Regions from separate parts of the Homo sapiens genome. Here all the other regions are linked to region 4. Evidence: promoter capture Hi-C in 16 types of primary human blood cells and fetal thymus (Javierre and others, 2016). All regions are on one chromosome and are shown on one strand. Each heading gives the region's core, a stretch centred on a gene start or on the middle of the fragment in contact. The rest is flanking DNA. Distances are from core to core; before and after follow the strand shown.

Region 1 (2,700 bases), core at 166-2,665, 1.3 Mb after region 4:
TATGTATGATTTATTTATTCTTTATGTTGCAATTTTGAATATATGTAAGTTATATCTCATTTTTTATTTTTTATCGATTTATTGTAATTTTAATTAATTTTATATATTATTTTTATTATTCAATTTTTTAAAGGTTAAATACATTTTTATTTAGAAGACCTGCTTTATATACAGTGTGGAGTACTTATAACATACTAATAAAATTCTAAGGCATAAAATTAAGAGATATTTTAGTCTATAGTTTATAAGCTTAATAATAGATTACAGCTATTCTCACTTCATGGTTTAGGACTACATCAAAAAGAGGGAAAGGTTATAATTTGAAATGACAGCAATATAGGATCCAAGAGCCATAGAAGCCACTTTGCTCATCATCATTTTTAAAATGGGGAAATTGAGGCCAATGTGATTAAGAAGCAAGCATAAGATAATCCAGTCAGCAATGAAGCTGCAAGCACAAGAAGGCAGCCTGATAGACTCATGGCATTTTGGAATACTAGCAGTTCTCTTTTTAGTACTGTAAGCTCCAATCTCCCTCTTCCTGGAAACAGTTCCTTGTTCTCAATCTTTCTTTATTTGTTTAAACCAGTAAAGACATGCAACTTGGTGGGGCTTTTCTGAGTCCGCAGAGGGAATTGTCAGAGCAGGTTTCCAGGAATGAGCTTGGAAAAAGCACCATGAAGAACATAAATTTCACACGGGAAGTCCAGTCATCCATCTCGCCATCAATTCTCTCCCTTCAAACTTTTAATATCTAACCTCATCTTTCTTTCCCTGTGGCCCGCGTGTTCAGTAGAGCGTGGTGGCTTACTTTCTTTAGGCAGTGATTTTTCGAAACCCCCGGCCAAAACGCGATGGGGAAACAGATTTCTAAGTAAGTCTCTGGGAAAGAATCTGCATCTCTGTGGCATTCCTACACTAGCTTCATCTTCTAATCACTTTCCTCTAATAGCCTTTCCTTAAACCAGAGTCTCTTGCTTTCAATCTGCATAAAGCAAGGGCTTCTAGGAAACCAAGTCTACATGACTCTACAAGGGAGGGATTGCAGTGAAAGCTGCGAGAAAGACCCGTGCGCTCTGTAACTAGGCGAGTCAGCATCACAGCCCAATGGAATATACTCTAAAGATGGGATTTTCATGCAAAATATTTAAAAGATTCCATCTTGATCTCTTGTGCGGCTTAAGCATTTAAAGATATAACTTGGGGTTCTCCCTGGATCCTGGCTACATCCCATGAAGCCCAAGTGCACAATTTTGGAATATTTCCTCCACGGTGCTTTGCTTGCTTGTTTGCTTTCGGCTGGGTCAGGTGAGGAGGATGACAGGGCTTCTGTATTGCTAAATGGGTTTTCACAGGAGATGGAAGATAAAAATCAAAATTATTTGTAACGTAAGACAGCAGGGCCTGGTGAGAGGACGCTTCGCCGCCAACAATTAGCAATTCGGCTTCTACACAGCAGCCGGAGATCAGCTTTGCTGCATTTGGTCCAGGTTGGAGCATCTCCGCAGCAGCTGCAACAGCCGCACGAAGGTAGCTCCGGGCGGGGAGCGAGGCGCTGTCCTCGGTGCTGAAAGGCCGAGGCGCGCGGTGGGCGCGACAGCCCCGGAGACCCGAGGTCTCGCGGAGGGACAGCGGCTACGGGCCCCGAGCTGTGCTTTCTCAGCGCCGCGCACGCGACGCGTCCACGGTGGTGCGGGGTGCCGGGCGCCGTGCGGGGGAGGGGGCGCGCGCTCCCGCCTCCTGCCGCGAGTCGCGCACGCGCGCCCGGGACTGCCTGCCCCTCTCTGTGACTTGCCTGTGTGTGTGCGTGTGTGTATGTGTGTGTGTGTGTGTGTGTGCGCGCGCGCGTGAGTGAGAGAGGAGAGAGGGAGAAGAGAGCGCGAGAGAGGGTGAGTGTGTGTGAGTGCATGGGAGGGTGCTGAATATTCCGAGACACTGGGACCACAGCGGCAGCTCCGCTGAAAACTGCATTCAGCCAGTCCTCCGGACTTCTGGAGCGGGGACAGGGCGCAGGGCATCAGCAGCCACCAGCAGGACCTGGGAAATAGGGATTCTTCTGCCTCCACTTCAGGTTTTAGCAGCTTGGTGCTAAATTGCTGTCTCAAAATGCAGAGGATCTAATTTGCAGAGGAAAACAGCCAAAGAAGGAAGAGGAGGAAAAGGAAAAAAAAAGGGGTATATTGTGGATGCTCTACTTTTCTTGGAAATGCAAAAGATTATGCATATTTCTGTCCTCCTTTCTCCTGTTTTATGGGGACTGATTTTTGGTGTCTCTTCTAACAGCATACAGATAGGTAGGTACCCTTTGTGCTATGCTTTTGAATTGTGCATAATTTGGTGGTAATCTTTGTTCACAGTGTACAAATTAATTCATGTCATGTAGACTTATGTCATACCTTGACTGCATTCCAGATTTAAACTACCTAGAATATACATGTTTTTCTTAGGATGAAGCAAAAGGAAAAGACTATGCCTTTGATACAATAGAAGAAAAGGTCCTCTCATTTCGGATCCCCAAATTTTATTAATTCTGCCTTAGCGACATTTTCCAGTTTGCTCAGATTTTCTTGGGGTCTGAATGCAAAGCTTGTGATTACATGGAAAGGTGAAGGTTTCTGGCCGCCTACCTCGCCTTCAGACTCTCATCTGGGTCTTGACCCCTTGGCTAGCTTTTGGATATTCCACCCCCGCTGTCCGAGT
Region 2 (2,700 bases), core at 56-2,555, 1.1 Mb after region 4:
CTTCCCTCCATATGCTGCGGGTGGAAAAATTTATTAGTGGATACATCTGTGGGTCCACAATACAATGCTAAGTGATGCTCACTTGAGACAATGCTTTTTTAATAAAAAAAATCCATCAGGACCTGGTGCAGTGGGGTGGGGTGGCTCAAGCCTGTAAGCCCCCCAGCTTGGGAGGCTAAGGCAGGCGGATGGCTTCAGGCCAGAGTTGGAGACCATCCTGGACAACAAAGCCAGAGATGCTGTCTCTTAAAAAATAATAATAATAATTAGTGGAGCGCAATGGCCTGTCTGTTGTTCCAGCTACTCTACTAGGGAGACCGAGACAAGAGGATCTCTTGATTGCCCAGAAGTTCAAGACTGCGGTGAGCGATGACTGTGCCTCTGCACTCCAGCCTGGGCAACAAAGTGAGCTCCTGTTGCTTAAAAAATAACAATTAAAAAAAATCAATCAGGCATACATTCAAGAGGTAATAGGATAGCCTTATCTGTTATCTAAGGGCTGCATATCCAAGTAAGGGCTACTTCTTCACAAGGATGAGGACAACAGTATTTTGCTCTTATAAGGCAGAGACCCTGTCTGGTTCAGATATGCAAAAATCACTAATTTTGAATCTCTGGTAAATTTCTTTCAAGATCTGTAACTCTAAGTAAATCTCTTAATATAACTGAGTTTCAGATTCTTCATCTACAGAAGGGGATGACAAAACTTGCCCAGGAATGTGGTGAGGGCCACATGAGATAAGGCGAGTGAAAGGTGTTTTGCAACTGTCAAGTTCTGTACACATGTTAATTATGTAACAGATGTTAAACATAGTATTACCTGTATGACTATATTGTCAGTAATTTTGACCAATTTAAGCTTGCTCAGAAAGTTCAGGCTTTTAGAAATTGGAAGACCCGGAGATTAAGCTGGATGTCTGGGTTCCAGGCAAATGGTGAAATGACAGAAAATGTGTTTTGTTCGCTTTGACCCAAGAAGGTCATTTGTTGCTCTGTTGTTTGTTGCTAGTGGTCAAAAGCTGACCCCAAGCAATCCCAGCTCCTTGAAAGGTTTTTTCTTTTTGTACCGACACTATCATTCCCGCCCTTCGTCCCCAACTCCTTTAGTCCCCTAAGGAGTGAGGGGGGTACACATTTCTGCTCGGTAACCCCTCCAATGCCTGAAGGGGACGATGCCGTGACGTTGCTCTGTCGGGACACCTCTTCCCTCCCCCGCCCGCGGTCGCCAGGTTCCCCCGCGGCCCGCGCTGTCCCCGCTGCGGCCCCGACCGCGGCGCGCCACGGCGCAGGCTCCGCGGCCCGAGCAGGCGCGTCAGCCGAGCTCGGCGGTGGCGCGGGCGGCTGGGACGCAGCTGCCCCCGCTCGGCGCCCGCTGCACCCTTAGCAGCCACTGCCACCTGGGCCCGGAGCCTCCACGATCTCGCCCGGCGATTGTGGGCAGGGGCGCCTCCGGGTAAGTGCCAGGAGCTCCACTTAGGAGGAGGGGACGCGGGTTGGGGCGGCGACGGTGGTCTGAGGACGGGAATAGACGCCTTTGCGGAAACAGCGGGTCAAGCCCGGGGCGGCGGAGCGCGAGGAGCACTGCGGCGTGCCCGGGAGGACGCGCGCTGCCCTGCGCGGGAGAGGGGCGCGGGGCGCCTGGCAGCGGCAGCCGGGTCCCCGCTGCGGTGGCGCCCGCGGAGACGCTCCGGGTGGAGAGATGCAGAGGGCCGGGGTAATTAGGAAACGCAAGGTTGGCCAGGAGGGCTCCTTGCGTTGTTTTGTTTATGAGGATCCTCCAGTCAATGCAGCTGTCCCCCTTGAAAGATTGGGGGTGAGGACAGAGCAGAGTGGTGAATTTCTCTGTTTTTCGAAGCGTTAGGGGGGCTCGGCCCTCCTTTTTGCGGGGGCAAGGATGTGAAAGTGGGAGAAGTACCTGCTGCTGTGGGCAAGGTGTCTGGAAGCAGGTGCCGCTGTCGGATGGGGGAAGGGAGCGTCCAATGTTGTGAAGTTGCCAGAGGAGAACCTTGTGTTGTTGCTGTTGGTCTGATGAGCCCCCTCTGTTGTCTTCAATTTAAAGTACCCAGGGAGAAGCCCCTCTGGCTTGCCTGGAGTGTGTGTAAAAGATAAATATGGGGGGAAGAATCCTGGGGGGGGGGGGGGAAGATGAAAAACATGACATAAGGAGAAGCAAATTTCTGAGGGTGAGATGGGAATTAAGTTAGCGTTGAAGAATATGACAGGTCTTTTACTCTGCGGAAAACAATGAAAGAGAAACAATTTATGGTTTGGAAATGAAGGTTGCAGAAGAGTTTGAACTTCTCTAGTGTAGGTAGAGGCTTAATTATTTTTTATTTATCAGAATCTCTGGCAAGAATATGGTTCTGATTTGAGCATGAAAATGTTATTAAAATATGGCTAGGACGATAATTTGAAAAAAATGTAACAACACTTGTTTTATTTCTTGTTGTAGAATTTCTGAAGTAATCTTTTTGATGACAAATGTTAGTAGCAAATAAGTAAGAAAGCTTTAAAGCTAACTTAAGAGGCACCTTTTTGGGGCAAAAAGGTAGCTTGCCAATGTAATGTGTTTAAATAAAAAAAGCAATGAATTTTGAATGTGGAACTCTTTGATATTAACTTTTTCTTTTATCTGTCTTTTTTAATACTTAGAATTTCTTTTTCTTTAAAATACATTATTTTTGAAAAAATATACATAAG
Region 3 (2,800 bases), core at 290-2,789, 1.0 Mb after region 4:
GTGTTTAAAAATACCTAAATTTCTGCAGCTTACCAAATAACCAGTTGGATGAGAGGATACGTTTTTATGTTTCTGGAAAGCTGAAAAGCATCCCGTTTTCTACAAGTGACTATCTTAAATCAACTACTTCAAAGATTCTTAACATGCCTTGTCATCGGCTTTGTATTCTGGGACAAAACTCCTAGACTATGGGAGAAGTCTCACCTTAACATGTACTTCACAATAGGTGAGTTACAGTAACTTTAGGAGAGCATATTTAGGATGGTGTTGGTGATCCCAGAGCTTAAATGCACATACAAAAACCAAGGTGTACTTTAATCATGAAATTAGTAACTCTGGGTTAAAATTCTCCATAGGGCATCTGGTCCAATTCTACAGGCAATAATTTAATCAATAGTAAAAGAGCTTTAATAAGATTTTTTCCAACTTGGCTTGAATACCCCTTAGAGACAAATAAATCCTTATATCACAAAGCTGACCAAACCATTTCTGTATAGTTCTAAGTGTTGAAAAGTTTGAATTTACATCGAGTCAAAATTTACCTATATGTGAATTTCACACAATTTTTCAAATTTATCATCTAAAAACTCATAAAACTTGACCTGAGCTTGGTTTGACTTTCTGGAAGAGTCAGTGTCTAGGACTGGAGTTACTTGGAAATCAGAGCAAAAATTGCAGTCATAAAGCTCACTTTTCCTGAGTTTGCTAAGCTGCGAAAACTCAGACCTTCTCTCTGAACACAAGGACCAAGTACTTGGGAGTTTGTGTTCCTTAGGGTTTAGGGGTGAGTGAAGTCACTGGTGATTGCCTCTTCCATGGAAGTGTCAGAGTCTAGTATCGGAGTTTCTTGAAAGTCAGATAAAAGATTGAATCGGAAAACTCACTTATCCATATGGTAGCCCTATAGGTTTTTTGAGAACAATGGTCATTTCCCATTTAGACTATTCTTCTTTAAACTAAATTTCCCTCAAATTTTTTCAATTTTTCAATGTATGACAGGTTTTGAAGTTTTCTTACTATTTTGGTGACCCTTCTGTTATTATTTTCCAGTTTTTCCAACATTCTACTTATGGTATGTATGGTAGACAGGATTTCTTTTTTTTTTTTTTTAATATCTAAGAATGTTATTTTCTTTTTTTTTCTTTTTTTTTATTAAAGTTTTAGGGTACATGTGCACATTGTGCAGGTTAGTTACATATGTATACATGTGCCATGCTGGTGCGCTGCACCCACCAACTCGTCATCTAGCATTAGGTATATCTCCCAATGCTATCATGGTAGACAGGATTTCTAATAATGCCAGAAAGAATGAAACAGAAAACCACTTCTGTTAAAAGTTAACTTCAAAACAAGAGTAAAATCATGACTCCTGTAGATATAAAAATGAATACATGTTAAAGATTTCATATAATCAATAAGGACATCAGGCAGGCATTTTTACTGTTTCAAAAAAAATCTAAAGAAGAGATAGATTTATAGAACAGAAATATTGAAAAGAAGGCACAGTTATAGACAAAACTGCTGTCTTGTTTTTGTTTTTCATTGTGGTGGGAGGAGTCAGATAACCAGAAGAGTGGCTGGAGTCTAGATAATGCAAAGTTCTCCACTGAAGCACAGGTATCTTTCCTACATTTCCTTGCTCTAGATACTAGTCTTTAAAATTCACAGGATAATGATAAATATATAACCCAATACTTGATAGTTGTAAAATTGCCATACAGCTTTAAAAAGTTTCTTTGTATTATAAGGTTTAATATAATATGCCAATAAACACTGAGGTTAGTCTTATGTAAAAAAGAGGAGGTGTTGAAAGTTTGCCCTTCTGTGGCATATCTTAAATGATCAATAGTTTGCTAATTGTATCTTCTCTTTCAAGTTTTCAATATTTCATGGTCTCTGGATTTACCAGTTTCAAATTAGTTAACAAATTCAAGTTCACTGAAAAAATACCAACTTAATTCATAAGTCTGCTATATGCATAACATACAAAATAAGTAAAAAATACAGATTTTTGTAGATAAATTATATTTTAGTTGAACAGAACAAGGGGAAGATACATACAAATATATTAAAGACAAAGCATACCTCATTTAAAGGCAAAAAAGCTATTGGATTTTTAAAAATGAGTTAATATGTTAGGTTAGAATAATCAGAAACGACTCAATGAGAAAATTGGATTTTCACAAATTATAACAAGATACAGAGTACTCAAGGAGAAGGAAACAAAAAGTATGGATTCTAGATTAGAATAACTGGAAATATTGCTCAGTCATTCAAGGGTCTTAATTGTCAAGTTAATTAATTTGTATTTAATTCTTAAAACATAACTATTAGAATTTTTAAAAAATGTTATTTACATAATAAGAACAATTCTGTGATTTAATCTAACATAGCTATGAAGGTTAGATTGGAAAGCACAGAGACTTAGATAAGAAGACCACTAGAAAGTAAAATTTATGTGACTTGACAGCAATTTTTTTTTCTTTTGGCTATGGAGCAAGAAGGGATAGGAGTAGAGAAGGGAGAGAAAATAATGAAAGATGATTCCAACTTTTCCAATGTAGGTAAAAATCTCTATTAGCTTCCTAGGGCTGCTATAACCAATTACCATAACTGGTAGCCTAAAACAACATAAATTTATTCTCTAACTGGTCTGAAGTCTAGAAATCCCAAGTCCTGGTGTCAGCAGGGACATGCTTCCTCTGAAAGCTCTAGGGAAGAACCTTTACTAGCCTCTTCCTAGCTGTTGGTGACTCCTGCAATCTTTGGCTCCCTTGGTTTGTAGCAGCATCATCAATCT
Region 4 (2,700 bases), core at 179-2,678:
GTTTATTTATTTAGCCAATGAATACGTTACCAATAAAGGTGAAACTGACTTTTCCCCTAAGGGGTTTCGTTTACCAGGAAAACGAACGTAAGTTGAGGATAGGGGTAGAATACAGGCCAGAATTTTGTTCTTGAAAGAGTAAGAGGACTTCTGGTTTTGAAAGCTAGAACTGAACTCAAGAATAATAAAGTGGAGATAACAGTACACATCTCGGTTTGGACAAAACGTAAGAGTGGACAGAATCAGGGAAGGCTGGCCTTCCTAAACATTGGAGCTTTCCAGGAGAGTCGGGGGAAAAGAGCACAGCTATGAAATCCTGTGAGAAATTCCAACAAACACCAGGAAAAAAGATACACTTCCTTGAGCAATATTACTCAACTCAGACTTATGTTTGATTCAGAATGAAAGAATTTTCTTTTCCAATAAATTAAATCATGATAATGGCATCTTTCATGAATTTAAAAATGTGTTAAATAGTATCAGCTATCTAGAACATAGTGAGGCGAACACTAAATCGGCATCCCTTGCAGTTTCCTTGGTTTCAGGAAAATCATTATTTGTGCTCAGCTAACTGGTCCCTTCCAGAGTTTTCATGCTAGACTCAAATCTAAGTATTTATTATAAATATTATAAAATATAAATTATATTATATTTCGTATAATAATATGAAAAGGAAATTAAATGCTTCTCTTTTCTTCAACTCAGTCTCCGCCAAGGCAGGAAGAACTTTTAAAGTGGTGCGTTAGTTTAAGGAGAATCATAAACCATCAGGATTCTTTAATCTGGCTAAAGACAGGCTCTTTGTTTCTAACTTCTGATCACTAGCGCCCTCCTCGGGAAAAAAAAACACGACAGGTTTCTTCCACCAACAGGCTGCTCCCTGTTTCTGGTTCTCATAAAAGAGAAATAGAAGAGCTTTGGAAGCCAGTGGCAACGATAGAGGGGATTGCTAAAAGGGGGTGCTTCTTCCCACCAAGGACACTTTGGACGTATCTATGGATTTATTTGGGTGCGTCCCAAAAATCCATAGCGACAAATCTCTTCTGGAAAATCAAGTCTTTTGGTTAGCAAAGGCATGGGGGAGTGACACCATGGCACAAGGAGAGGGGAGAGAGAAGCTGGCTTTTGCACCCGCAGCTCAGGGCCCCAGACGCATCGCAGAGCCACGGGTGCCCACGAGCAGGGTCAGCTCTCGGGGGCCCTCTTCCGCAGCCCAGACCCGGGACAGGAAGTGAGGGAGCAGGGACAGATCCCGGGGAGGCGCGCGCTCGGTACCCGGAAGGCGGCGGCTTCACGCTCGCGGCTCCGCGGCCAGGTCGGGGTGAAGGGGGCGCGGGAGTCCGCATCGCCGCCGCCCCGGCACAGCAGCCACAGCAGCCACGGCAGCCACGGCAGCGCCCGCACGTCCATTGCGGCGCCCGGCTCCTCTGCCGCCCGCGCGGCCTGTTTTCTCTTTCGGTTCCTCGGCTCCTCCCAGCCTGGGCTCGAGGGGCGGAAGGAGCTGGGTTGAGTGCACGATGCTGAGATTGACCCTTTTTTAGGTCCCCGGTGTTCTGTGACTGAAAATCCGGTCAGCTGGAGGCTACGGACCTCCTTGCTGAGGCTAGTTTTTTTGTTTTTGTTTTTGTTTTGGAAGAGTCAGGCACTTGACCATGTGCTTTCGAGGTTTCACTTCCATCCATTAGAAAAAAAGAAGCCTGAGAGTCATTCTTTTGTGTGTGTTGAGATCAGGTCTCACTGCAGCCTCGACCTTCAGGTTCAAGTGCCTCCTGCCTCAGCCTCCGGAGTACCTGGGACTACAGGCGCGTGCCACCACCCCAGGCTATTTTTGTATTTTTAGTAGAGATAGGATCTTGCCATATTGCCCAGGCCGGTCTCGAACTCCTGGACTCTAGTGATCCACCCGCCTTGGCCTCCCAAAATGCTCACAGGTGTGAGCCACCTGGCCTGCCCTGTGAGCCACCGGAAGCTGCCTTTTTCCTTCTTGCCACAATCCCTAAGTTCAAGACCTAGTTCTGAAGTGATGTGGGCCAATACATAGAGTCATCCATTCAGCAGATGTTTATAAATACGTAACAAAATTGTACAGATGTGAAAAGCATACACAGTTTTTGGATCTATTATGGCAGTTTCAAAACTCTTGAAGCCTGTTTCTCCGTTTGCAAAGGAAGATAGAGCCAAGTACATAATTTGCAGGGTTCCGTGTAAACTGAAAATGAAGTTCCCTTGTTCATAAATTGTGAAGAATTTCAAGACGGCAACAGCAGAGCATTAACCCAAGCCATGGGCCTTCTAAGCACCCACTTCTGCACAGGTCACACACTCATGAACCTGGCTCTACCGAGCCTTTCTATTATCATCTATTCTGAACAAGGCTTCCATGTCTGTGAAATTCATATCATTACCCTTGTAGATTTTTAGAACTAACATCAGATTTATGTCTTTAGTTTTTACCTAGGTGCAGTGAGTTACAATATTCTCCAATGCAAACTTCGTAATAAAAATAAAAATAATGTTCCGAGTATTAAGAGGAAAGACACAAGAGTTTTTTATGTACGTTCATGATAAGATATATTGCTCTTGGCAAGTGTGGTGATAAAGATTTTATTTAAATCATAAGTTCACAGAACGATGTTCATGTTTACCTCAGCAGTTCTTTTGTACTTAGCCCTTTTTTGTGACTCATACAAGCACATACTT
Region 5 (2,783 bases), core at 149-2,648, 1.1 Mb after region 4:
TATTACTGTGGTCTCGTAAAAATCGAGTGACCACGGGGCCAGAACTGCCCTTCATAAGCTGAGTTCTATCAGTTCTGCCATGTAAGGATGTCAAATGACCTTAGAAACAATCCACTGTGAGATGGGAGTGGTGCATCTGGGGAGTAAGCATGAGCAGGAATGAAAGGCACAAGCTAGTTGCCCAACGATGCAGCTCAGATCCCCATGCCATCTACCACTGCTGCACAGTGTGTCTCTCTCAGCTCATACTTATGGCCAAATGGGAGGAGAAAAAGGCAAGCTTGATTCCAGTGTGGGACAGCCTGGTATGTGGGAAAATTTTTCAGTGGAAAGAGTTTTTGGCAAGTACCTGGTAATTAACTTTGTGTAAAAAGATAAATGGCTCTAAATTAGAAATATATGGATTCATGGTCAGTGGCAAATGGCTTGTCTCCCTGCTGGGAGCTGGGAGTGGTAAGATTGAAAGATTTGAGATACGGAATTCTTGAGCAGGAGCATTTGGATGGACATGTGAGAGTGGTTACAACATGTGAAAATCTCTGTATTACATGTTAATGATCACCAAAGAACATCTAGAAAGAAAGAGTCACTTATCAAGCTAGACAAAGTCACTCAGCCAGTTGATGTCGGCCAGCTGCTGTACCCACCAATCCAATGCTGACATATGGATATATGATGGAATAGTCATGGTACAAGAGATAGGGAAAATGCATGAGCCCCAGAGCATGGGCTGCCACTTACCAAGGCCAAACCATCTACTCTTACTACCAAATTTTTAGTCTGCCAGAGCAGAAACCAGCTGTATTAGTTCCTTCTCACACTGCTCTGAAGAAATACCTGAGACTGGGTAATTTATAGAGAAAAGAGGTTTAATTGGCTCATAATTCCACAGGCTGTGCAGGATGCATGGCAGCATTTCCTTTGGGGAGGCCTCAGGGAGCTTTTACTCATGGCAGAAGGCAAAGCAGGAGCAGGCATCTTACATGGCAGGAGCAGGACTAAGAGATAGAGCGGGGAGGTGCCACACAATTTCCAAGCAACAGGAGTCTCATGATAACTCACTCACTCACTGTCACAAGAACAGTACCGAGGGGATAGTGCTAAACCATTCATGAAAACCTGCCCCCATGATCTAATTACCTCCCACCAGGCATCACCTCCAAAGCTGGGGATTACAATTCAATATGAGATTTGGGCGGGACACACATTCAACCATATCACTAACACTCATCCCCCTATGTTATCTTTCACTGAAGACATCTACAAGTCACTGGGTGGAAAGTTAACTACACAGGGCCCATTTCACACTACACAGGTTAGTGATTAATCTCGACAAAAAAAGACACATTTCCCAGATGGGAGCGGTGGCTCATGCCTGTAATCCTGGCACTTTGGGAGACCGAAGCGGGCGGATCATGAGGTCAGGAAATCGAGACCATCCTGGCTAACACGGTGAAACCCAGTCTCTACTAAAAATACAAAAAATTAGCCGGGCATTGTGGCACGGGCCTGTAGTCCCAGCTACTCAGGAGGCTGAAGCAGGAGAATCGCTTGAACCTGGGAGGCAGAGGTTGCAGTAAGCCAAGATCGCACCATTGCACTCCAGCCTGGGAGACAGAGTGAGACTCCATCTCAAAAAAAAAAAAAAAAAAAAAAAAAAAAGAAAAAGACACGTTTCTCTTAGCCCCTAAGTTGACACATAAAATTAACAATCATATCCCTCAATTTCCAAGTTTACTTAAGATGTCACTTTATATACTCTTAGCCTCTGATTTTTATCTGTAACACATATTAATGTATTAATGTAATGTAATACATAGGTGTTATATAAATGTGTATGTATGTATTTGTACATATACATAAATAAAATATTCATTATATATATTATGAATAGTCTAAAACTATAAATCCTTAGGGTTCTGGTTGCCAGTGTTATTATCACTCATAACAAATCTTAATTTAGCATTTTTGGTATATAACCTGGGCACAGTAGTAAACTTCCTTGGGCCTCATTATGCCTACCTGTAAAATGGGAATGAAAATATCTAATAGTCCATTGGAAATTTATGTGCCAAGAATTATAGTTTTCTAGCATAAGATATTTTTTGGAATATTGGCTAGTTTTTTGAAAATATTACATTGGGCTAGGTACTTATTTTCTCTGTGCCTCAGTTTTTTCATCTATAAAAATAAAATAACAATGGCACACCTGTAAGGGTTTAGTGAGGATTGAATGTGTTCTTGTATAGAAAATGCCTATACAATGGCTGCAATATCCCTTCAATAAACTTTTGGTATTATTATTCTGTAGATACTCTAGTCAAGTAACCAGTGTGCAGCAGCTATTTCATATACCTCCTCTATTCTGAAAAGCCCCACTTTCCTTCTCCCGGCCTCCTACCTTACCAGATAATCATGCCTCCTATCTAAAGGATAAGGTAGCATTTTCATCTCTCCATTCAACCTGCCATTTATAGCCATGCTGTCCTCCTTTTTGTTACACCGTGTTCTTTGACAAAAGCTTCTCCCTCCCTATGTGCTCTGGTGGGTGTGTTTCTGGAATCTGACAGTCTGCCCTCTGGTCACCAAAGATGCCCTTACTCTTCTCATCCACAGAACATACTAATCTTCTGTATTGGAGTTTAATCAGAGGAGCAGAGCCACAGGGAACATTTTAAACCATAGGATTTATTATAGGCAATTCGCTTTCTATATTAAGCAGCTGCTAGACAGCGATTACTTCAGCACCTGAGGCTGGGCCTAAGGTCAGCCAAACAAATACT
Region 6 (2,761 bases), core at 129-2,628, 1.0 Mb after region 4:
CTACTTGGAAGGCTGAAAAGGGAACATCACCTGAGCCTGGGGAAGTTAAGGCTGCAGTGAGCTGTGATCATACCACTGCACTCCAGCCTGGGTGACAGTGAAACCATGTCTCAAAAATAAAACAAAACAAAACAAATACAAAAGGGAAAAAGCTAAGTACAAAAAAAAAATCACAGTCTGAAAATAAAAGAGGAATTAAGTGGAATAGCAAGAGAGCAAATTTAGTGAAGCCAGCCTGGCAAAGATAGTCTGGTGTGGAAACAGGGCAAATAACCGTCCAGGGAGGAGCCTACTCAGTCACTAGGGGATGATAAAAAGTGGCTTGAAGGTGGCACATGAATTCTAACGAGAAATCTGATGACAAATAAAATTAACAAAACTAAATTTAAAATGCATTCCCATGAGGTAAAAGGCAAAATTAGCGAATGCTACCAAAAGTATCACTTATAACAACTTGGCTTTAATTATAAACGTAGTTATTATAGTTCCCCTTTATAATTTTTAGCTCCCTTTGTTTTCAGATTTGGGAACTTTGCAAACCAAAGTTTAAAAAGGTAAATTAATAATATTTTAGGCAAGCCATTCAAGTTTATAGCTATGAATTTATTTTCTGACGGTCTTGACCAAAAAAAAAAAAAAAAACTTGAACTTCTGAATAGAATATCCCATAGAATATAGTGTAAATAAAAGTTAAGGTCACTCACTGAATATATTTCAAAAATAATAGGTTATACTTTCTAGCGTTCACTAAACATGCTTATTTATTCATTTTTATGGTACTTTTATCATTGAGATGTACTGTTAAATGAAATGTTAAAATTATTACCAGAAAGTTTCCTTGTGGAACCAAGCATGCCAATGTCAGCCATATTATTCATCACCATCACTGAATAAGCCAAAATATTAAAATAAACATCCTTCATCTATATACTTGCTTAAAGTACAGTTCTAACATAATGGTAACCATTATAAAGGTAGTATTTCCAGTTATTTGCCAATTTGTCAGATGCCTACAGAAACAGAAGTTATCACTATATATATATATAGTGATATATATATAACAGTATATATATAGTGATACTATATATACTGTATATATAGTACATATATATACAGTATATATATAGTGATATATATATACCATTCCATTTGACTAATGTGATTATTATGAGATTGTTTCCCTTACTGTTCCCGTAAATATTTCCGAAGCAACAGATTCTTACCTCATCTCCCAATCTGAAAACCATGCAATCCACTAACATAATAAAGAAATGCTTTTATAAAAAGTATGTGAATTTTGAAACCAGGATTCCATTTTCCTAATTGGTTCTCACATAAGGAAAAATGTATCACCACATTAGCAGTTTAATAGTGGCTGTCTAGTGGCCTTGACAAAGTCAAGTCAACTTCTGCTCTCTAGGCCTCAATCTGCACATCAGTGAGGATAAGTTCCTGGGGTCTTTCCAACTCTAACATTCCTCATACCACACATGTTGCTGAGTTCTAGCCTGTGCAAGTTATCCTTGAGCCACAGGTAAAATATAGAAAGTACACAGATTTTGGAGGCTTGTCATCTATGCAACATTTTCAAGAGTCCTTGGTCTGCATCACATGACAGTCCCCATCTTCAGAAAATGTAAGGCTATGCACAGCAATGACACTTAAAAGAGTAACCAGTTCTAGGAAACCTATCCATTTGCCTGGTACCTGCTCACTTGGTAACATAATCTTTATCAAGAGTAAAACGTGGTACTCTGATTGGCACAACCATCACTACCAATACATGAACAAGCTATCTTCCTATTTAAGAAGTCAAGTAGTGTGCAAGCTCCAAGACCAAAAAGATATCTTAAAAGATGGCCTGTTGTTAGAGTTAACAGCATAGTCTTTCTTTAATAAGATACTAACTACCTCCAGAACCTTTCAACAGATACTCATCGGGCACACTCTGCCATACCTGTCTCAGGTGCTGGAGTTCCTACAGGAAGCGATTCAAACAAGGTCCACGCTCTCAACAACTTAGATTTTATGGTGGGGGTGAGGGATGTTGGTAGATAATAAATTAATTAATTAATAAACAAGAATATCAAGGAGTATTAAGTACTACATAATTAATTAATTAACCTTGACAAGACAGTGAGGGGTGGTTAATTTAGACTTAGTGGTCAGAAAAAAGACCTCTCTGAGGAAGTGAATCATTTAATCTAGATGAAGGGAAGGTGTTATCCATGCAAGAGCAGCTGGTTAGTGTTAGCCAGAGAGGCAGGGGCAAATGACTGGAAGTTGCAATTGTATGCTGAGTGTGCCATGTCCACCATCTCATCACTCCCCCAGCCATAACCCTTGAGGAGCTAAAGCCAAAAGAGCTGCAGGAAGGGAGCTTGAAAGAAGCCATACCCCTTCTTACTCCAGGTCCTTCAAGTCATGGGTCAGGCCTGAGCTGCCAAGCAGAGAGGAAAAAAGATAGAAATTTTAACCCCAATATGAACTAAAATTGTCCACAGCTAAAAGTGTCAAAATGCTTAACAATCAGTACGGCAGGAACACTGATCGATCAGGACAGAGGCCAGCAGGGTTGCAGAAGTATCTCAGAGGCCTTAAGCAGTACCAGGCATTGGAATTTCTGCTTCATCACGTGTTGGTCCATTTGTCTTAGAGGAGTTGCACTAGTCTCTTCCCAACTCATTGGAAATATTTCAACATTTCAACATTTTGGTAATCAGTATGGAACTAACACTGGTGCATACTAAATGATTATCAA
Region 7 (2,741 bases), core at 156-2,655, 1.4 Mb before region 4:
TGATGATTCTATTGTTAGTTGATCAAACATCAGTCATTGAAAATGTAGTAATACGTTACCTCAAAAGAAAAAAAAAAGGTTAGAGTTTTCTTAACAGATAATTCTTTTTAAATCTGTAAGAATCTGTACGTCACTAAAATAAAATCCTGTCTAGATTATTAAAATAAACTTTGTTATCAGTTATATTTTCATGGAAAATATTCCTGTATATATTTTAATTAATAGCCACATAGATATTTGCTTTTTCTGTCAGATCATGTATCCCTTTAAAAACCATTAAAGCTAAAGAAAAAAATCTTAAAATATAATATTTACTCATTGCTAATAAAGGGAACACAAATTTGGAAAGACTCAAGTGAATATTTTTTCTTAATTTAAACTGAGTACTTTGTCTCTATTAAGCTAAGTTAAAAGAATTTGGGAGGACAACCTATGCTACCAAGAGAATAATTTGTTTCTAGGAATCTGAGTTAAAAGAATTTGGGAATGCAATCTCTGCTACCTGGAGAAGAAAGAAATGTCGTGGGTCCCACACCATTCTCAAGACTCTGTTTCAAAGCATTGTTTCAATACGCTGATCCAAACCCTGATAACCTGCCATCTTTTTAATAAAATAATTTATAAATTTAATGAGAATGTTTCACTTTCCATACAAAAAACAGAAAAATGCTTTGAATCAATGCACTTACTGGGATTTGGATTACTGACTGGTGTTCCTATTGATTCTTGTAGGAGTTATTAATCCTGATTGCAACACACAAGTGAACAGACAAGAGAGATAAATTTTGTGGCTTGTGGGAAATGAAGGAAAATGGGCCTCATTTAGTCTGTGAGCATACTAATTGAAATAGATGTATGAAGACTTCACCAGTGTTAAAATAACATTGTTTTTATAAATCATATGATATAAACTATATAACAATAAAATAGAATGTTAAACATGTATTTAATCATCATCATAATTTTGATTCAGAAATCTATAATTTATTAGTTATCTTAATAATGTTTAGAATTTGTTGAACATTTTACCTTATGTGAATTAAGGACAAAATATTAAAGCTATTCAGCACAAAAAAAGGGTCTTTCTGATGTGTATTTTTCATAGAATAGGGTATGAATTTGTTATTTTGTTATTTTGATTAATGTCTAAAACAAAAGATAAACACATTATGATATAACATTACTATTGATTTTAATGGCCCCTTTTGAAATAGAATTATGTCATTGTCAGAAAACATAAGCATTTATGGTATATCATTAATGAGTCACGATTTTAGTGGTTGCCTTGTGAGTAGGTCAAATTTACTAAGCTTAGATTTGTTTTCTCACATATTCTTTCGGAGCTTGTGTAGTTTCCACATTAATTTACCAGAAACAAGATACACATCTCTCTTTGAGGAGTGCCCTAACTTCCCATCATTTTGTCCAATTAAATGAATTGAAGAAATTTAATGTTTCTAAACTAGACCAACAAAGAATAATAGTTGTATGACAAGTAAATAAGCTTTGCTGGGAAGATGTTGCTTAAATGATAAAATGGTTCAGCCAACAAGTGAACCAAAAATTAAATATTAACTAAGGAAAGGTAACCATTTCTGAAGTCATTCCTAGCAGAGGACTCAGATATATATAGGATTGAAGATCTCTCAGTTAAGTCTACATGAAAAGGATGGTTTCTTGGAGCTTCCACAAACTTAAAACCATGAAACATCTATTATTGCTACTATTGTGTGTTTTTCTAGTTAAGTCCCAAGGTGTCAACGACAATGAGGAGGTGAATTTTTTAAAGCATTATTATATTATTAGTAGTATTATTAATATAAGATGTAACATAATCATATTATGTGCTTATTTTAATGAAATTAGCATTGCTTATAGTTATGAAATGGAATTGTTAACCTCTGACTTATTGTATTTAAAGAATGTTTCATAGTATTTCTTATATAAAAACAAAGTAATTTCTTGTTTTCTAGTTTATCACCTTTGTTTTCTTAAGATGAGGATGGCTTAGCTAATGTAAGATGTGTTTTTCTCACTTGCTATTCTGAGTACTGTGATTTTCATTTACTTCTAGCAATACAGGATTACAATTAAGAGGACAAGATCTGAAAATCTCACAAACTATAAAATAATAAAAGAGCAGAATTTTAAGATAAAAGAAACTGGTGGTAGGTAGATTGTTCTTTGGTGAAGGAAGGTAATATATATTGTTACTGAGATTACTATTTATAAAAATTATAACTAAGCCTAAAAGCAAAATACATCAAGTGTAATGATAGAAAATGAAATATTGCTTTTTTCAGATGAAAAGTTCAAATTAGAGTTAGTGTGTATTGTTATTATTAATAGTTATGAAACACGGTTCAGTCTAATTTATTTATTTGTAGAACAGTTTGTCCTCAACTATTATTTTTGCTGACTTATTGCTGTTAATTTGCAGTTACTAAAAATACAGAAATGCATTTAGGACAATGGATATTTAAGAAATTTAAATTTTATCATCAAACGTATCATGGCCAAATTTCTTACATATAGCATAGTATCATTAAACTAGAAATAAGAATACACAATAATATTTAAATGAAGTGATTCATTTCGGATCATTATTGAGTTTCAAGGGAACTTGAGTGTTGTACTTATCAGACTCTACATGTAAGAACATATAGTTAATCTGGTTGTGTGTGTAAAAACATATGGTTAATCTGGTTAAGTCTGGTTAATCATATTAGGTAAGAAAAATG

What was found. The method cuts DNA at HindIII sites, captures the fragments that hold promoters and counts their contacts. A CHiCAGO score of 5 or more calls a contact.
Region 1: a fragment that was not itself captured here is called in contact with the fragment with the promoter of CTSO in region 4 in 1 of 17 cell types (M1 macrophages); the score reaches 5.6 in M1 macrophages.
Region 2: the fragment with the promoter of GLRB here is called in contact with the fragment with the promoter of CTSO in region 4 in 1 of 17 cell types (erythroblasts); the score reaches 5.8 in erythroblasts.
Region 3: a contact is called between a fragment that was not itself captured here and the fragment with the promoter of CTSO in region 4, in 1 of 17 cell types (monocytes). The highest score is 6.0, in monocytes.
Region 5: a contact is called between a fragment that was not itself captured here and the fragment with the promoter of CTSO in region 4, in 2 of 17 cell types (M0 macrophages and monocytes). The highest score is 8.9, in M0 macrophages.
Region 6: a contact is called between a fragment that was not itself captured here and the fragment with the promoter of CTSO in region 4, in 1 of 17 cell types (monocytes). The highest score is 5.8, in monocytes.
Region 7: a fragment that was not itself captured here is called in contact with the fragment with the promoter of CTSO in region 4 in 1 of 17 cell types (naive CD8 T cells); the score reaches 7.0 in naive CD8 T cells.

Annotation. Positions count from the first base shown.
Region 1 is chr4:157,218,837-157,221,536 of GRCh38, forward strand. GRIA2 (glutamate ionotropic receptor AMPA type subunit 2) reads left to right here and starts at 1,892. Exons shown (of 16, transcript NM_001083619.3): 1 at 1,892-2,294. The coding sequence starts at 2,207. The HindIII fragment of the contact is 2,337 bases long and covers 248-2,584 here.
Region 2 is chr4:157,074,845-157,077,544 of GRCh38, forward strand. It overlaps GLRB (glycine receptor beta), which reads left to right and starts at 1,306. Exons shown (of 10, transcript NM_000824.5): 1 at 1,306-1,453. The HindIII fragment of the contact is 1,648 bases long and covers 858-2,505 here.
Region 3 is chr4:156,999,572-157,002,371 of GRCh38, forward strand. No RefSeq gene overlaps it. Among named protein-coding and RNA genes, the nearest start is that of PDGFC, 29 kb to the left of the region's middle. RefSeq lists an enhancer at 1-496. The HindIII fragment of the contact is 5,247 bases long and covers 1-2,800 here.
Region 4 is chr4:155,952,438-155,955,137 of GRCh38, forward strand. It overlaps CTSO (cathepsin O), which reads right to left and starts at 1,429. Exons shown (of 8, transcript NM_001334.3): 1 at 1,276-1,429. The coding sequence starts at 1,410. RefSeq lists an enhancer at 2,540-2,700. The HindIII fragment of the contact is 8,738 bases long and covers 1-2,700 here.
Region 5 is chr4:157,049,621-157,052,403 of GRCh38, forward strand. No RefSeq gene overlaps it. Among named protein-coding and RNA genes, the nearest start is that of GLRB, 25 kb to the right of the region's middle. The HindIII fragment of the contact is 2,241 bases long and covers 279-2,519 here.
Region 6 is chr4:156,963,357-156,966,117 of GRCh38, forward strand. The region is part of intron 1 of PDGFC (platelet derived growth factor C); the gene reads right to left. Among named protein-coding and RNA genes, the nearest start is that of PDGFC, 7.1 kb to the right of the region's middle. The HindIII fragment of the contact is 3,699 bases long and covers 1-2,761 here.
Region 7 is chr4:154,561,359-154,564,099 of GRCh38, forward strand. It overlaps FGB (fibrinogen beta chain), which reads left to right and starts at 1,653. Exons shown (of 8, transcript NM_005141.5): 1 at 1,653-1,774. The coding sequence starts at 1,661. The HindIII fragment of the contact is 194 bases long and covers 1,309-1,502 here.